Regions from separate parts of the Homo sapiens genome. Here region 2 is linked to region 1. Evidence: promoter capture Hi-C in human tissues and cell types (Jung and others, 2019). All regions are on one chromosome and are shown on one strand. Each heading gives the region's core, a stretch centred on a gene start or on the middle of the fragment in contact. The rest is flanking DNA. Distances are from core to core; before and after follow the strand shown. Region 1 holds the start of ZNF239 (zinc finger protein 239). Region 2 overlaps TMEM72-AS1 (TMEM72 antisense RNA 1).

Region 1 (7,723 bases), core at 2,798-5,297:
TTTTATCCGTCTTCCATTCAGTTGTCTGGATTGTCTAATCCTCCTTCTCTACCTCAACAATATTCAAACCATTTCAGATCCTGTCAATTCTGCCTCCTAAATTTCCCTCCAATGTGTTACCTCTTTTCCATTTCCACTGCCAGTCTTAGTAAGACCCTTATTTTTTTTCTTACCTAGGCTACAATAACTCCTTACCAATTCTTTGTAGTACAATTTTTGTCATCTTCCAGTCCCTAGGTTAGACAACCAGAGTTATTAATTTTTTAAGGTCCTCAAGATAAAATGGCAGGCGGGACTCCATTCTGAGAAGGGAAAGGATATGTTGGTGGACTACTAACTTTGTGGTAGGTAAAAAAAATGACAGGAGTAGACCAAATGAAAAGAATCATTGTGACAAGGGAAAGGAGAAAAGGAAAGGAAATTAGTGCTCCTGTTAAAGCAAGACAAAGGTGGGACTGAAACACTGAATAATCAACAGTCTTCCCAGGTATCAGTGGCACTAAGGAGTCACTCCAAGGCTGTGCTCCTGCTTACAGTTGGGAGAGCAGACTTGATATTCTAAAGGCCAACCAAAGAGGAAGGTCACAAGTTCAATTGTTTCCTGTTTCTATCAGACAAATGTCGACCTCCTCAGAACTACATACATGCCATCATGTGGCCTTCCACTTCTTTCTAGAGCCCATCTCTGCTGTATCTAACAATTTACTTTGAAGTGGAAAAGCAGGAAGAGGCACACTAGATTACCTGGAGTCATTCAACACATTACACTTGAGTCTAGCACAGTCCTTTCTATAGTAAGCCCTAACTTATTGAGTTCTCCCATCCATTTTGGAGCTTTCAGTCTCAGGACAATAGCCTCTTTCTGAAGCATGAGGATGAGTTAGAATTCTCCTCCTCTGAGATCTCATAGCATCTTTCACATCCCTCTACTATAGCTATTAAGTCTCTCCCAAGTTGGCTGGAAGATTCTGAAGGATAGGGGCTACACTCAACTCATCTTTGTTGTTTGAAACAGAGTCTCACTCTGTTGCCCAGGCTGGAGTGCAGTGGCATGATCTCAGCTCACTACAACCTCCACCTCCCGGGTTCAAGAGATTCTCCTGCCTCAGCCTCCCGAGTAGCTGGGATTACAACAGGCATCAACATGACCAGCTAATTTTTGTATTTTTAGTAGAGATGAGGTTTCACTATGTTGGCCAGGCTGGTCTCAACTCCTGACCTCAGGTGATCCTCCCCACTCAGTCTCCCAAAGTACTGGGATTACAGGTGTGAGCCACCATGTCTGGCCTCAACTCATCTTTAAATCCCCAGCAACTACCACAATTGACTTGGAATCTGAAAGATAAATATAAATTCACATTCAATTTAAATGAATAATAATACAACTAAAAGAAAACATAAAGATGGTCAAGCCCAAGACCCTCAGTTTACAGAGAAAAAAACCACAGTTCATAAGGGCGAAGTGACTTACCCAATGTCACAGAGGAAAAGCAGGGTTAACTAAGACTCCCGCCTTTCAGCAGACCTAAGGACAATGTGTGGTACATAGAAAACACACAATGCTTGGAATGAAGTCCTTCCTTTAAATTAAAAAAGTTGTTGTGTAACACACACCAGAATCTCAAAATTTACTAAACTGGCAATCCCCAGTTGCAGCGGCAGTGAATACTTAATCATTAGGGAGCAGGCAGAAGCGAAGGAAGGAAAATGTATTGATTCTACTAAGGTTAATCTCCCTTGAAGTCCTCAATTACTTTTCAGGGCACAGAGAAGCCATGCTCTCAGTACCTCAAGTCAGCTTACTGTCCTCTAAACAGATTTTTTCTAAGAGCTCATGTGTGTGAGGGCTGTATTTGCCAAGCAAAAAGATGGCCTTTGCTGGTAGTGTTAAAAAACATTTTTTTTCCCTTAAAACGCAGTCTGATATTTTATTCAAACAACTTCTGATGTGATGACCTGTTTAGTTAATGGAGAAAGAACAGCCTGAAGGAAGAAAACACGGGGTTTATTTCTGGCCTTCTGCTCTCTGAAACAAAGGACAAGGCACTTTCCTTCGGCTCTCTCAGAGTTAGCCGAGTTAGAGCTCTCCACCATAAAACGCCAGGACAGGGCAAAGAGGGGGCCGACCATCTCAAACACCATGGGATTCTAAGTGGGGGCTGACCATCTCAAATACCCTGGGAGTCTAAGGGTTAATTTTGAGGTAACCTCCTACAGATGGTTTTATGGGGACAACTGAAAACTCTCTTTAAAAAAGTACGACTTGGTAATTTAAAATTTACTGGAACAGTTAAATATGTAGACATGCTAGTGAAAGAGAACAAATCAACCTGAGTATAAAGGATGAATAACTCATTTTACCTACCCTAGAGACACTTATAGTGTATAGAGAGATATTTCACAATAAACCTTTGGATGTACAAAGATCAACAGAATAAAAAAGGAGTGAAACTCTCCTTTCACTAGGTCTGGAAGAGAGAAGGAAGCTTAGTTCTTAAAAAACACCACAGAGAGTTCTGATGCATAGCCTAGTTGAAAAGCATTTCTAGAGTGATTTTGTAACCACTGTGCTGCCATTTAACGAATTTCCTCGTTTTTGACTCATAGTTAATAAATTATCACTATTAATATGCATTTTTTTGTGTACAGGTAATATAATATGTTCATCAAGATGGTAAGCTCCTTGAAGAAAAGCACCGTGGTTTATCATTCTATCTGTTTTGCTGAGACCACTTAGCACTGGGATGAGTATGGAATAGCTTGGAATGACTTTCAATGTGAGTGAAATGTCTGGCAGGAAAAGGCAGGCTTTGAGAGGCTCCCCAGGAGGGCACAGCCCACTGCTCTGAGGAGTGGAATAAATTCTTGGAGGCAGGATGGGCCAGTGAAAACTCTCTGTGCAGACCCTGGTGACATCATCTGCTAGCTACATGTCCTTAGTATCTTAATGTCCCTACATCCATAGCTATAAAATACCGTACTGGGGGCCTGACAATAAAGAAAACAACACATGGCACAGGGACATTTCAGGGAGATGGCATTTTAGGAGAAATGGAACGCCAACTCACCCGGACCCTGGTCATTTCTTACTCCCAGAGGGGATGGATTCCTGGAAAGGCAGAGTTAGGGAAAGAGAAAAAGCCATGAAAATCAAGTCCAGCAAGACTGCGGGGAAAAAGTTACTCCGCTCCTGCCTCTGACGCTTCTTCAGTCACTTCCACCCACACTCCCTCCATCAGGTGAGAGGTGAAGCATTTTCTGTCACCACCTTCATCTCTCTCCACAGGGCTTTCGATTAAACAAGCCAAGTTTTCCCCCCAAAACCAAGAGGCTAGGTAAATTCCGCAGCCGCCGGCAGCTCGAAGCCGTGCCCATTTCCTCTGACTTTCCCGATCTCTGTCCTAAAGTTCTAGTTAAGAGGAGAAGCTTCTCGGGATGGATTTCGGTTGCCCAAGACGCCTTCCCCGACCTCATTCTCAGGAGCCTGGCTCGTTCCTGCGGTGCGGGGGCTCAGATGCAAGCTCTTTTCAGCGAAGGCAGTGCTGCGGACAGAAACCTCAGTCTCTTACAGGAGCCCCCGTCCGTCGCCTAACGTCCACCGAAAACCCCCCTGCAATAACGCCCGTCACAGGCGAGGAAAAGGCCGGCGTGGCCAACCACGAAGCCCCCAGCCGGCCCAGGCCAGAGCTCGGCCAGGAGGGAGGAGGGGCCATCGGAGGCGCGGCCGCTCAGCTGCAGGGCCCCACAGGCTTCGGTGTGGCCGCAGCCCGGCCCCGGGGGCGCAGCAGCTCGGAAATGCGGCGCCGGGACACACGTGCCGCCGCGGGCCGCGCCTCCGCTGGTCGCGTGCCCTACCATCGCCGCCCTCCCGGCTTCCGCAGCTCGGCGGCCCAGCGCCTTACCCGCGGCACACCCATTTCCTGACCCCTGAACGCCTCTGCCAGCGGCTGGGGAAGCCCGGCCAGTCTCACCTCCCACGTGGAACCCCACGCCTGCAGGGGCCAGATTCCGGATGCTGACCGCTCGCGCGCCTAGGGCCCCGAAATACAAGTCCCAGCAAGCCGCGGGCGAACCACGCCCACTTCCGGCGCGGGCCCCTGAACTCTGCGCTGTGCGGAGCGGGATTCTTGGGCGGAGGGGACCATCTTTGAGTCAGCGACGCGTGTATTCAAGTCCTCCTCCTCGTTTTTTATTACAAACAAATAAGAATTATTTTAGGAATACCTGTTAAGGTGATTTTCATTTGTTAAAATACTATTGGGGGAAAAGGATGTAAATACCCATAATTTCATCTTTACCTTTCAAAACATTCTGAAGTGAATATTTGCCATTCGGCATCTTCCATCTCACCTCTGAAGTTCATCCATTTAACAGATATTAATTGAGAGCCAACTGTGTACCAGGAGCTGTTCAAGATGCTTGCACAAAAGTCACTGCCCTATTCTAGTTGGGGAAACAAGCAATCCATAAATATAGTAAATATATGGCGTCGTGTGTGTCATGAGGTGGTACTGAAAGCATAGAGCTGGGCGGGGTGTGGCGAGGTGCGTTTGTGGGTGTGTAGGACTGGAGGTGTACTTTGCAATTTTAAATAGGGGATCTTGGAACAAACACAGGAGGTGAGGGAATTAGACAAGTGGCTCCCAGCAGTCAGAACTCTCCTAAACGCACACAAGGGTTGTTGATACCAGGATTTTACGTTTATTTCACTTCTCACCGAGTGACACAGAGCTACCCATTTGGTCTTTTCCCAATTCCTTTCTTTCAGATTTATTTTGGAGAGGAAAGAGATGTTGCCTGGACCTCTCTTCTACATCCTCCCCCTTCCTTGGTGTATTAGTTTCCAATTGCTGTCACAACAAATTAACACAAACTTAGTAGTATAACAAACATGTATTCTCTTAAACTTCTGGAGGTGCCAAGTCTGAAATCAAGTTTTACTGGGCTTTATAAAGTCAGTGTTGGTGGGGCTAGTTCCTCCTGGAGGTTCTAGATGAGAATATTTCTTTGCCTTTTCCAGTTCCCAGTGACTATTTGCATTCCTTGGCTTATGGCTCGCTCCTTTATCTTCAAAGTGCATGACTGCAACCTCTGCCTTCATCATCACATCACATGCTCAGGCACTGGCTCCTCGTGGGTCCTTCTAATAACGACTGTTGTGATTACATCAGGCCCAGCTGGCTAATCTGGGATAATCTCTTGACGTCAAGATCCTTAATTTAATCACATTTCAAAAAAAATCCCTCTTGCCATAGAAATTAACATCCACAGCTTCTGGGGGTTAGGACATGGACATATTTGGGGGACTATTATTTTCAGCCTGCGATGCTTGGAGAGGCCCACGTCCCCTTCGGTCTCCTCCTCAGAGATGCTGTCTTACCTTTTGCCTGGGGAACACAAAATGTCTCCCTTGGACCTTACTCCTCTCCTCATTCTTCATTGGAAAACCACAGAGCTTTTCCCTATTTAGATTTACCACCCTTGCCCTGACCTTCACTTCCTCATGTGCTCACTTCTCTCCTCACTCAATTTAAGAGGCCATGGAGCATGGTTATGGCCAGTCCTGTGTATGTGCCGTTACCCTTAACTCTCTTGTCCCAGTCTTTCTTGGTTTTATTCTCTTGATGGAAACCCAAATCTGCTTGAATCCAGTTCCTGGCCTGCGCCTGTACGGCAGAGGTTGTTTGAGAAAACCACATGGCTGGGATGATTGGTTTCATTTTCAGTTTATAACCATTAAGTTCAAGTGGGCCCTTCACGCTGCCTGGCTATCCTTCTACATTTCTTAGTCCATCCATTCTCCTAAATGACTATTTCACAGGTTCTACTCTCTTTTCATTATTTATTTATTTATTTTTTTGAGCCAGGCTGGAGTTCAGTAGTGCGATCTTGGCTGACTGCAATCTCTGCTTCCTGGGCACAAGCAACCCTCCCACCTCAGCCTCCTAAGTAGCTGGGACTATAGGCTTGCGCCACCACACCAGGCTAATTTTTGTATTTTTTTTTTTAAGAGATGAAGTTTCACCATGTTGTTCGGGCTGGTCTCCACCTCCTGGGATCAAGCGATCGTCCCACCTCAGCCTCCCAAAGTGCTGGGATTACAGGCTGAGCCACCATGCCTGGTCTTCTACTCTCTTTTCAAGCCGCCAACAACTCCTCCCATCTCACTGAGTGCTGATGACTTTGCTTTCTGTTACTGAGTAAAGAGAACTTCTATACCGCCTCACAGGCACATCTGCCCTCCTCTCTGCATTAGAAACTGTATGCTCTACTTTTCATTCTGAGTCACTGGCCCTAGTTCCTATATGAGAAAATTCTTTTGCACCCTGGATGTTAAATGCTTTCTCATGAATGAGGTCCTTCTCTCTCTTCTGTATTTCAAGATTTTCATTCTGTACTGAATTATCAGCATACTAATGAATACACTGTAATATTGTCCATAAAATAAATAAAACCCCTTACCTTGCACCCTATTTCTCTCCAGCCACTACCTCATTTCTCTGCTTTGCTTTACAGCAAAACTCCTAAAAAAATTGTCCCTAAGGGATGTTTCCAATTTCTTTTCTCCCATATTCTCTCTTTTTTCACATGCAAAACCCAAAATTTAATTTTTAACTTAATTTTAAAAATTGGTATATAATAGATGCACATATTTTGGGGGTACATGTGATAATTTGATTAATATTATGTGTAAAGATCAAAGCAGGGAAATTGGGATATCTATCGCCAAGTATTTGTCTTTTCTGTATGCCGGAAATATTCAAATGATTCTCTTCTGGCTATTTTGAAATGTACAGTAGGTTAATGTTAACCATAGCTAACCTACTGGTTTATTGAACACCAGGTCTTATTTTTTCTGTCTAACTGTGTATTACACCTTGGTATGTTTTGGCTCTGTGTCCCCACCCAAATCTCATCTTGAATTGTAATTCCCACGTGTTGAGGGAGGGACCTGTAATTCCCACAAGTGGAGGGAGGGAGGTGATTGGATCACAAGGGGCAGTTTCCCCCATGGTGTTCTCATGACAGTGAGTGAGCTCTCACAAGATCTGATGGTTTGTGAGATATGTTTGGAAGTTCCTCCTTTGTTCTTCTCTCTCCTGCCACCTTGTGAAGAAGGTGACTGCTTCTTCTTCCAACATGATTGTAAGTTTCCTGAGGCCTCCCCAGCCATGTGGAAGTGTGAGTCAATTAAACCTCTTTTCTTTATAAATTACCCAGTCTCAGGCATTTTTTTATAGCAGTGTGAAAAAAGACTAATACATACCCCTTAACCAGCCTCTATTCAGACCCCTACCTCTACTCTTTCTGAACTCTGGTTACCACCAATCTACTCTCTATCTTCATGAAATCCACTTGTTTTTTTGTTTAGCTCCCACGTATGAGTGAGAATATGCAATATTTGTCTTTTTGTGCTTGGCTTATTTACTTAACATCATGGCCTCTAGTTCCACCCATATTGCTGCAAATGACAGGATTTCATTCTTGTTTATGACTGAATAATATTCCGTTATGTACATACACCACATTTCTTTATCCATTCATCCATTGATGGCCACTTAGGTTGATTCCATATTTTGGATATTGTGAATATTGTTGCAGTAAACATGGGAATGCAGATAGCTCTTTAGTATATTGATTCCTTTTCTTTGGGATATATACCCAGTAGTGGATTTGCTGGATCATATGGTAATTCTATTTTTAGTTTTCTGAGGAGCCTCCA
Region 2 (7,723 bases), core at 1,679-4,178, 1.3 Mb after region 1:
AATTGTTTTATATTTTCACTAGCAATGACAATCAGAAATTAAAATTTAAATCTAGTATCATTTAAAATAGCATCAAAAATATGAAATACTTAGAGATACATTTAACAAATGATATGAATGAACTGTACACTAAAAACCATAAAACATTGCTCAGAAAAAAATTTTAAAGAGCTCAAAAAATGGAAGATACGTTGCATTCATGGATCAGAAAATATAATACCACTAAGATGTCAATTTGCCCTCAAATTGATATAAAGATCAAAAGACCCCCTCCCTGTACCCTAGATTCCTCTCTACCTCCTGGCATCTCCACTTGAATATCTAATACCACTAATATGTCACTTTGCCCCCAAAATGCAAAAAAAAAAAAAAAATGAAACTTCTAGAAGAAAATATAGAGAGAACTATTTGTGAGAAGCTTACTGAGGCGATTCATTCAATGAAATGCCACTCAGCAGTAAAAAGAAATGATCAGTCCCCATATAAGCCCCCAAAGCAGGGAGTAGGGGGGTTTGTAGAAACTGACAAAGTTATTCTGAAAGACAAATGTCCCTAAATAAGAAAAGCTACACATGGCCCAGACACATAAGAGCAACTGAGATTTGACAAAGGTGCAAAGGTAATCCAACGTGGGAAAGATAGTCTATTCCAGTCTATCAAATGGAAACAATTTGATATCCATATGAATCAAAATGAATTAAATTCATATTTTGCAGCACCTACCAAAATTCACTCAAAACAAAACAATGAATCTTCTATAAGCATATATAGGAGGAACTATTTGTGATAAGCTAATGTGGTGATTCATTCAGTGGAATGCTACTCAGCAGTAAAGAGGAATGAACCATCGATACAAGCAACATGGAAAAAAGTCATAATCATTATGCTGACTGAAAGCAGCCAGACAAAAAAAAGGGTTTTTGTTAGATGCTATTTATATAAAATTCGAGCAGACTAAGCTATACTGATGGAAAGCAGATATTTTGTGGAGAGGCTCCCCATGTGCAGAGACGCAATGGGGAGGGCAGAATGGAGGACTAGAAGGGACAGGAGGCAATGTGTGGGGTGACGGATAGGGCCACTATAGTGATTGTGGTGGTGATTTCATAGATGTAGACATATGTCGGAACTTAGATCGTGCACTTTAAACATGTGCAATTTATTCTGTGTTGTTTATACCTAAACAAAGCTGTAAACATTCATAAAGAAGGAAGACAGGAAGGAAGGAGGGAAAGAAGGAAGGAAGGAAGGGAGGGAGGGAGGGAGGGAGGAAGGGAGGGAGGGAGGGGAGACGGAGAGGCAGGGAGGAAGGAAAGGGAGGGACAGAGGAATTTACACCCTTGTGGAAGGAAGGAAGGAGGTAGAAAGGGAGGAAGGGAAGGAGAAAAGGATTCACTCCCTTTTGTCACGTGTTCAGACTCTCAGAAAATATCACTGAGCGTTTTCTCTACAGAAGCTTTCTCCACCTGTCCTTTGGGACACCGTGTGCCTGTAGTTTTCCTCATACTTTCCTGGATGGTCTTTCTCCTTCCCCCAACATTGCCCCAACCTCTCAACTGGCAGCGCCCTAAAACTCAGTCTTCTTTTCTCTAACTCGCCTCCTTTGGTGAGCTCACTGGATTTCATAGCTCTGAATCTCATCTCTACACTGACCACCCTCAAATGTCTCCCTGTAGCTCAGACCTCCTCCCTGAACCCTAGAGTCCTCTCTACCTCTTGGCATCGTTGCTTAAATATCTAGTAGAGATCTCAAACTTGGCATTTTCAAAATTCCCACAAACTATGCTTCCCACTGTCTCCCCATCTTAGTAATTCCCACTGCTCGAGTTAAAAATAGCACACACACAACAAAACCAAAAAAACACAGAATTACCCTTGGCCCCTCTCTTTTTCTCGTTCCCCACTTTCAAATCCTTTGACAAATTTGTCAAGCACATCTTCAAAATTTACCCAAAATCCAACCACTTCTCACCACCTATATAGCTACAGACCCAGCTCAAGCCGGAGTGATTTAGTGTCTGGTCCGATCCCCGCCGCCTTCACCCCTGCCCGTCACTGGCCCTCAATAGAGCAGCTAGAATCTCTCTCACACACCAACTCTTCCAGCTTTTTTTTTTTCCTCTTTTTACAACATTGGCCAGAACCTCAAACACTGTGCCAAACGGAAACAGTTAGAATGGATGTCTTAGTCCATTTGGGCTGCTATAAAAAATACCCTAAATTGGGTGGCTTATAAACAACAGAAATTTATTGTTCACAGTTCTGGAGGCTGGGAATTCCAACATCAAGACACTAAAATATTTGGTGTCTAGTGAGGGCATGCTTTCTGCACACAGTCTCACTGTGTCCTCATACAGTAGAAGGGATGAGGGGGTCTCAGGCCCTAACCCCATTCCTGAGGATTCTGCCCCCATGACCTAATCATCTTCCAAAGGCCGCACCTTTTAATACCATTATCTTGAAATTTTCAATATATGAATTTGGGGAGGCCTCAGACATTCAGACCATAGCATTGGACATCCTTATTTTGTTTGTAATTTCAAAGGAAATGGGTCTTATGTTTCTCCATTAAATATTAGGTTTGTGGTAGGTTTTTTTGAATATAACTTTTGCCAAGTTAGGGAAATTTCCTCCTGTTCCTAGTTTTCTATGCTTTTTTAATCATAAAAGTTGTTGAATTTCATAAAGTACTATTTCTGTATTAATTTTAATTGCCATGTAATTTTTCTTCAGTAGTCTTTTAATATGGCAATATTTTTAACAAAAGATTTTATGACAATTTTTCCAATGATGAGTCACTCTTGTATTCCTAGGTGGCATCCTACTTAATTATAATATATTCTTAACAAAAGATTTGATTCACTTAGCCAAGATTTAGTTTTTCCTTCAATGTTGATATACTAATCAATTGAAGTCTTCTTCTCTTTGTATTTATTGTTCTTATCTGATACTTGAGTTATGAATTACATTAGACTCATAAAATGAGCTACACAACTTTCTCTTCCCATCTTACGGAACCACTTATAAAGATTAGCAATTAACTGTTCCTGAAAATTTAGTAAGATTCATCTATAACCCATCCGGGCTTGGGGATTTGAGGAGGGGAAATCTTTGAATACCACCTTACTTTTCTTAGTAGTTATTAGTTTGTATAACTTTTCTAATATCTTCATCATTAAGCTTTGCCTCTTAGTCTTCCAAAACTGTTTCTATTGAATTCAGTTTTTCAAGTTCATTAAAATATAATTGAATGCACTGTGAGTGTTCAAGTAACAGGAAAATGCTGATCCTTTTAGCTATGTTCACACATTAATCTGGGCTTACTTGAATAGGCCACTCTTCCTCTCAGTTGAAACAGAAAATCGTGTTGTTTGATAACATTGTTTCCCTACATCATTCATGTCCCTAGAATTATGTAGGACAAATAACATTTCCAATAGATTGTGTACCCCACATCCCCCCTTAAAAGTCTATATTGTTTTAATAGAAATTCCCAGAGCCCATGGCTTGCCTGGCTTCTTTCTATGATGAAATGTGGGTGCATCCTTGACAGCCTTCATCATAGCCTTAGTACTGCTCATCACCAAGGGCTGCTGCTATGGCTCCCACATTCTTGGGATGCATCCCTCCCCAGTCAGTGCCTACTGCATTGCTCAAATAATAATGTTGCTATATTGATTACAATTAAACATGTTATCTCTACTGTGTTACAGTAAATCACAGATTCACCAGAGAGAACAGTTACCTAGGACTCCCAGTTAACAGTAATATCTTTCTGGCATACCTCCAGTTTGGGGAATGGCAAGCTGAAACCATAATAACTATTATTCACCGAGCGCCTACAATAAGCCTGACATAAATTGGCACCTGAGATGTGCTACCTAGAAGCTTTATTAAAACCACAGAAGGAAAGCCTTAGTACCTTTGGTTCATTTCTTTTTCTTTTAAAGACAGGGTCTCATTCTGTTGCCCAGGCTGGAGTGCAGTGGTGCAATCATAGCTCCCTGCAGCCTCAACCTCCTGGGCTAAAGCGATCCTCCCACCTCAGCCTCCTGGGTAGCTGGGACCACAGGTGTATGCCACCATGCCCAACATTTTTTTGTATTTTTTGTAGAGATAGGGGTTTCACCATCTTGCCCAGGCTGGTCTTGAACTCCTGGCCTCAAGCCATCTTTCCACCTCAACCTCCCAAAGCATTGGGGTTGCAGGCATGAGCTACCACTCCCGGCTTGCTTCATTGATGAAGAAAATATTGATCACATGGGTTAAGTGACTTGCCTGAGGCCACTTAGAGAGTAAGTTAGAGCAGGGATTCAAATTCGGATCCATCCATTTTTTAACTTCCCACTGAAATCTAGATATTTTTCAATAAAGAATTTTCTAAAGAATAGCCTAAAATCAAATGGTTTCTGCCAAATCAGGTATACCTACAAATTTTTCGGCCCCCAGTTACCATCTTAAGTCCTGGACAGCTATTAAGTGGCATGCCTATGCTGGCTCCTGCCTATTGAAAGCAGTTGTCTGGAGTCTTGCACTGAGAAGGATTGTGCAGCTGAGCTTGGGCTAAATGAGAAATTGCTGAGATTGGATTCTAATGCTGTTTGTATTTATCAGAGTTCTCCAGAAAAACAGAGCCATACGGTATATGTATACATACATATATATATATATATATATATATATATATATATATATATATATATATGAGAAGAGATTAGGAATTGGCTCACACAATCATGGGGGCTGGCAATTTTCAAAGTAAGCTGGCAGGCTGGAAAAGCTGGCAGGAGTTGATGTTGCAGTCTTGAGTTCCAGGACAGTCTGGAGGCAGAATTCCTTCCTCCCCATGGGACCTCGGTCATTTCTCTTAATGCCTTCAGCTGATTAGATGAGGCCTACCCAAATGATGAAGGGTAATCTGCTTCTCTCAAAGTCTACTGATTTAAATGTTTAAAAAATACCTTCACAGCAACTTCTAGACTAGTGTTTGACCAATCAACTGGGCAGCATATCCTAGCCACATTGACACATAAAATTTACCATCACACTATCAAGATCAGGAAGACAATATTCCGTAACAGTGGGTCTCAGACTTCAGCATGAATAGGAAGCCCCTGACGGGCTTGTTAAAGCATGGATTGCTGGGTCCCAGCCCCAGAGCTTCTGATCCAGTAGAGCAGGGCTGTCCCTGTGAGAGTTTCCTGAGATGCCGATGGTGCTGGCCCAAGGCCACACTTTGAAAACGCCCCTGAATGGCGTCATTGCTACATTGCTGAAGTGATTACGCTGAAGCATCATGAACAATCATCATACAATATGTTTCTAATCTACAGTTTCTATATAATAAAAACAATTTGAAAATTTTCTGAATGTCTAAGTTTTCAACAAGAAAAACTTTACTTTTAACCCAGGAAAATATCCACCCAGTCCTTAGCTTCTCATAAGATTATAATAAAAAATTGTCTCAGAATATTATAATAAAAAGTTGTAATCACATACCTTCAATCAATATTCCAAAGTAACAGAGACATGTCACTCACAGAATTAGGAGTTGGGCCACTTGGGTTGGACAAGGTCAGGTCACAATTCTCAATTTGTACAGCTGATCAGAGCCAGATCTCCTGATTCCTGGTGCGTCTCTCCCTCAGGCCTCGGTTTCCACGTCCATAAAATGGGATAGTTTGCTTGTGCTCCCTCCAGACCTGATAATTCTTCTACCCAGGGTTCACATATCTTGACTCAGTTTGAAGCAGAACATTCAGACAGGTAGTACTGTCAGAGAGGAAATGGTCTGCCCTGTAAGGCAGGACTGTGGGTGCGAGAATCTGCGCTGGAGGGCACCAGGTGGAAATTTCATAGGGAAGATTCAGATTGCAGATTGGACACTTCATTCCTCTCACACTGTGAACTTCTACAGGTCCCTGAATTACAGACCCCATTCCTGGGACAAAGCTTAAAAGAAAGAAACAAACTTTAAAGAAATATAGGAAGGTGCCTTTGTTACTATAATGATTATGGATATCTGTTGTAAAAATAATACTTATTGAGCCCATACATCTCACTTGCAGAAATCCAAAGCTATGTTATTAAAGCTGTTTCAGGGTTTCAGAAGATAAATAAATTGAAGGTCTCTAAACCTTCAGCAAAACTGTTCCAACTTGGATTAATCTGGAACTGAATGTCACATTGAATCCTGCCAAGGCTTGGCAGGGCCCCAGGTAGGAATGATTTACATTCCATCCAGAAAAGCGGCTTTGGGTCCTGGAGGAACCAGTGGTTTCAATGCAGCCCTGACCAGGATAGCTGGATGGGAGTGTTCCCCTGGGTGGGCTCAGGTGGCACAAGGGAGATGAGGGTCACCCAGTTAGAGTGCCAAAGCACTGCTCATCTCTCAGTCACTATGACTGGTAGAAATGCCACCAGTTTGTGCAATGAAACAAGTCTACATTTATTCCCTGTGAAGCTGTGATTCCTGGTGTAGCACGCACAATCCAAAGGTCAGAGTTGAGACTCAGTTCTTGCTCTGGGAGTTTGTGGACATGACCTTCAACTCGAAGCCAGAAGAACTGAGTTTAAGACCAGACTGTGCCCCCTTAAGAGCTCTGTGATCTGGGCAAGTCAAATCGCCCCTCTGACTCTTCAGTTCCTCATCAGTAAGTGAGGCTAAATTCCCATGCCTGGTGGACTCCACAGGGGACCCCTCACCAAGAGTTATTAAGGTGCAGCTTCCCCCACTGTTAATACCTACAGTTCATGCAAATCAAAGAAGACTTTAGACCCAACTTGAGTGGCTTTTATAGAGTATGTCACAAAGGCAACAATATGGCATAAAGTACTCAGCACCTTTCCCCACCTGTCAGTGGAAGCCTGGTCCTGAATTGTTTGTGGTGTTGAAGGATGCCAAGGAGGCTCACCCTGTGCTAAGGTGTCACTTCAGGGCACCAGGAGAGCTATAAGAAGAGGTAGATGGGAAGTGGTCATGAAAGAGGGCCTGCCAGAGCTTTTAGGGGAGGCCAGAAGAGGGACTGTGGCCCATGAAAGGGTGAGGAGAAGGCCATGCTGACAAGGACAGTGGCGCACATGTGTGAGGATTTTTGGAAATCTTCTGCTGTGTGTCGCACCCCTGATATGCCAGCCCTCCAAAGACTTAATTAAAGTCTTATGTTATCTTTTTTTTTTCTTTTTTTTTTTGAGACAGAGTCTCACTCTGTCACCCAGGCTGGAATGCAGTGGTGCGATCTCGGCTCACTGCAAGTTCCGCCTCCCAAGTTCACGCCATTCTCCTGCCTCAGCCTCCTGAGTAGCTGGGACTACAGGTTCCTGCCACCATGCCCGGCTAATTTTTTTTTTTTTTTTTTTGTATTTTTAGTAGAGACAGAGTTTCATCATGTTAGCCAGGATGGTCTCGATCTCCTGACCTCGTTATCCTCCTGCCTCTGCCTCCCAAAGTGCTGGGATTACAGGCGTGAGCCACTGCGCTCGGCCAATCTTATGTTATCTTAAAACACTTTTGGAGTAGAAATTACATTTCTCTTCATGCATCACAGTGCTAAGACTAGAGCTTAAGGCTGAGGCTGACAGGCCTAGATAACTTTGGGTTGCATATACTTAAATTAAGAGTCAGCACATTTTAGGATGAAGCTTCAGGTAATGATCATGAAAACAATTCCTAGCATCTCTACAGACTCCATCATTTTCGAAATGCTTTCTCACATTAATGCAA

What was found. Contacts are between HindIII fragments. The study calls those that stand out against the background at their distance.
Region 2: a fragment that was not itself captured here is called in contact with the fragment with the promoter of ZNF239 in region 1 in 1 of the 25 tissues and cell types used here (dorsolateral prefrontal cortex).

The regions. Positions count from the first base shown.
Region 1 is chr10:43,570,569-43,578,291 of GRCh38, forward strand. ZNF239 (zinc finger protein 239) reads right to left here and starts at 4,048. Exons shown (of 4, transcript NM_001099282.2): 1 at 3,972-4,048; 2 at 3,069-3,109. RefSeq lists a silencer at 3,771-3,830. The HindIII fragment of the contact is 7,605 bases long and covers 2,957-7,723 here.
Region 2 is chr10:44,868,136-44,875,858 of GRCh38, forward strand. The region is part of intron 2 of TMEM72-AS1 (TMEM72 antisense RNA 1); the gene reads right to left. Among named protein-coding and RNA genes, the nearest start is that of TMEM72, 39 kb to the right of the region's middle. The HindIII fragment of the contact is 3,983 bases long and covers 938-4,920 here.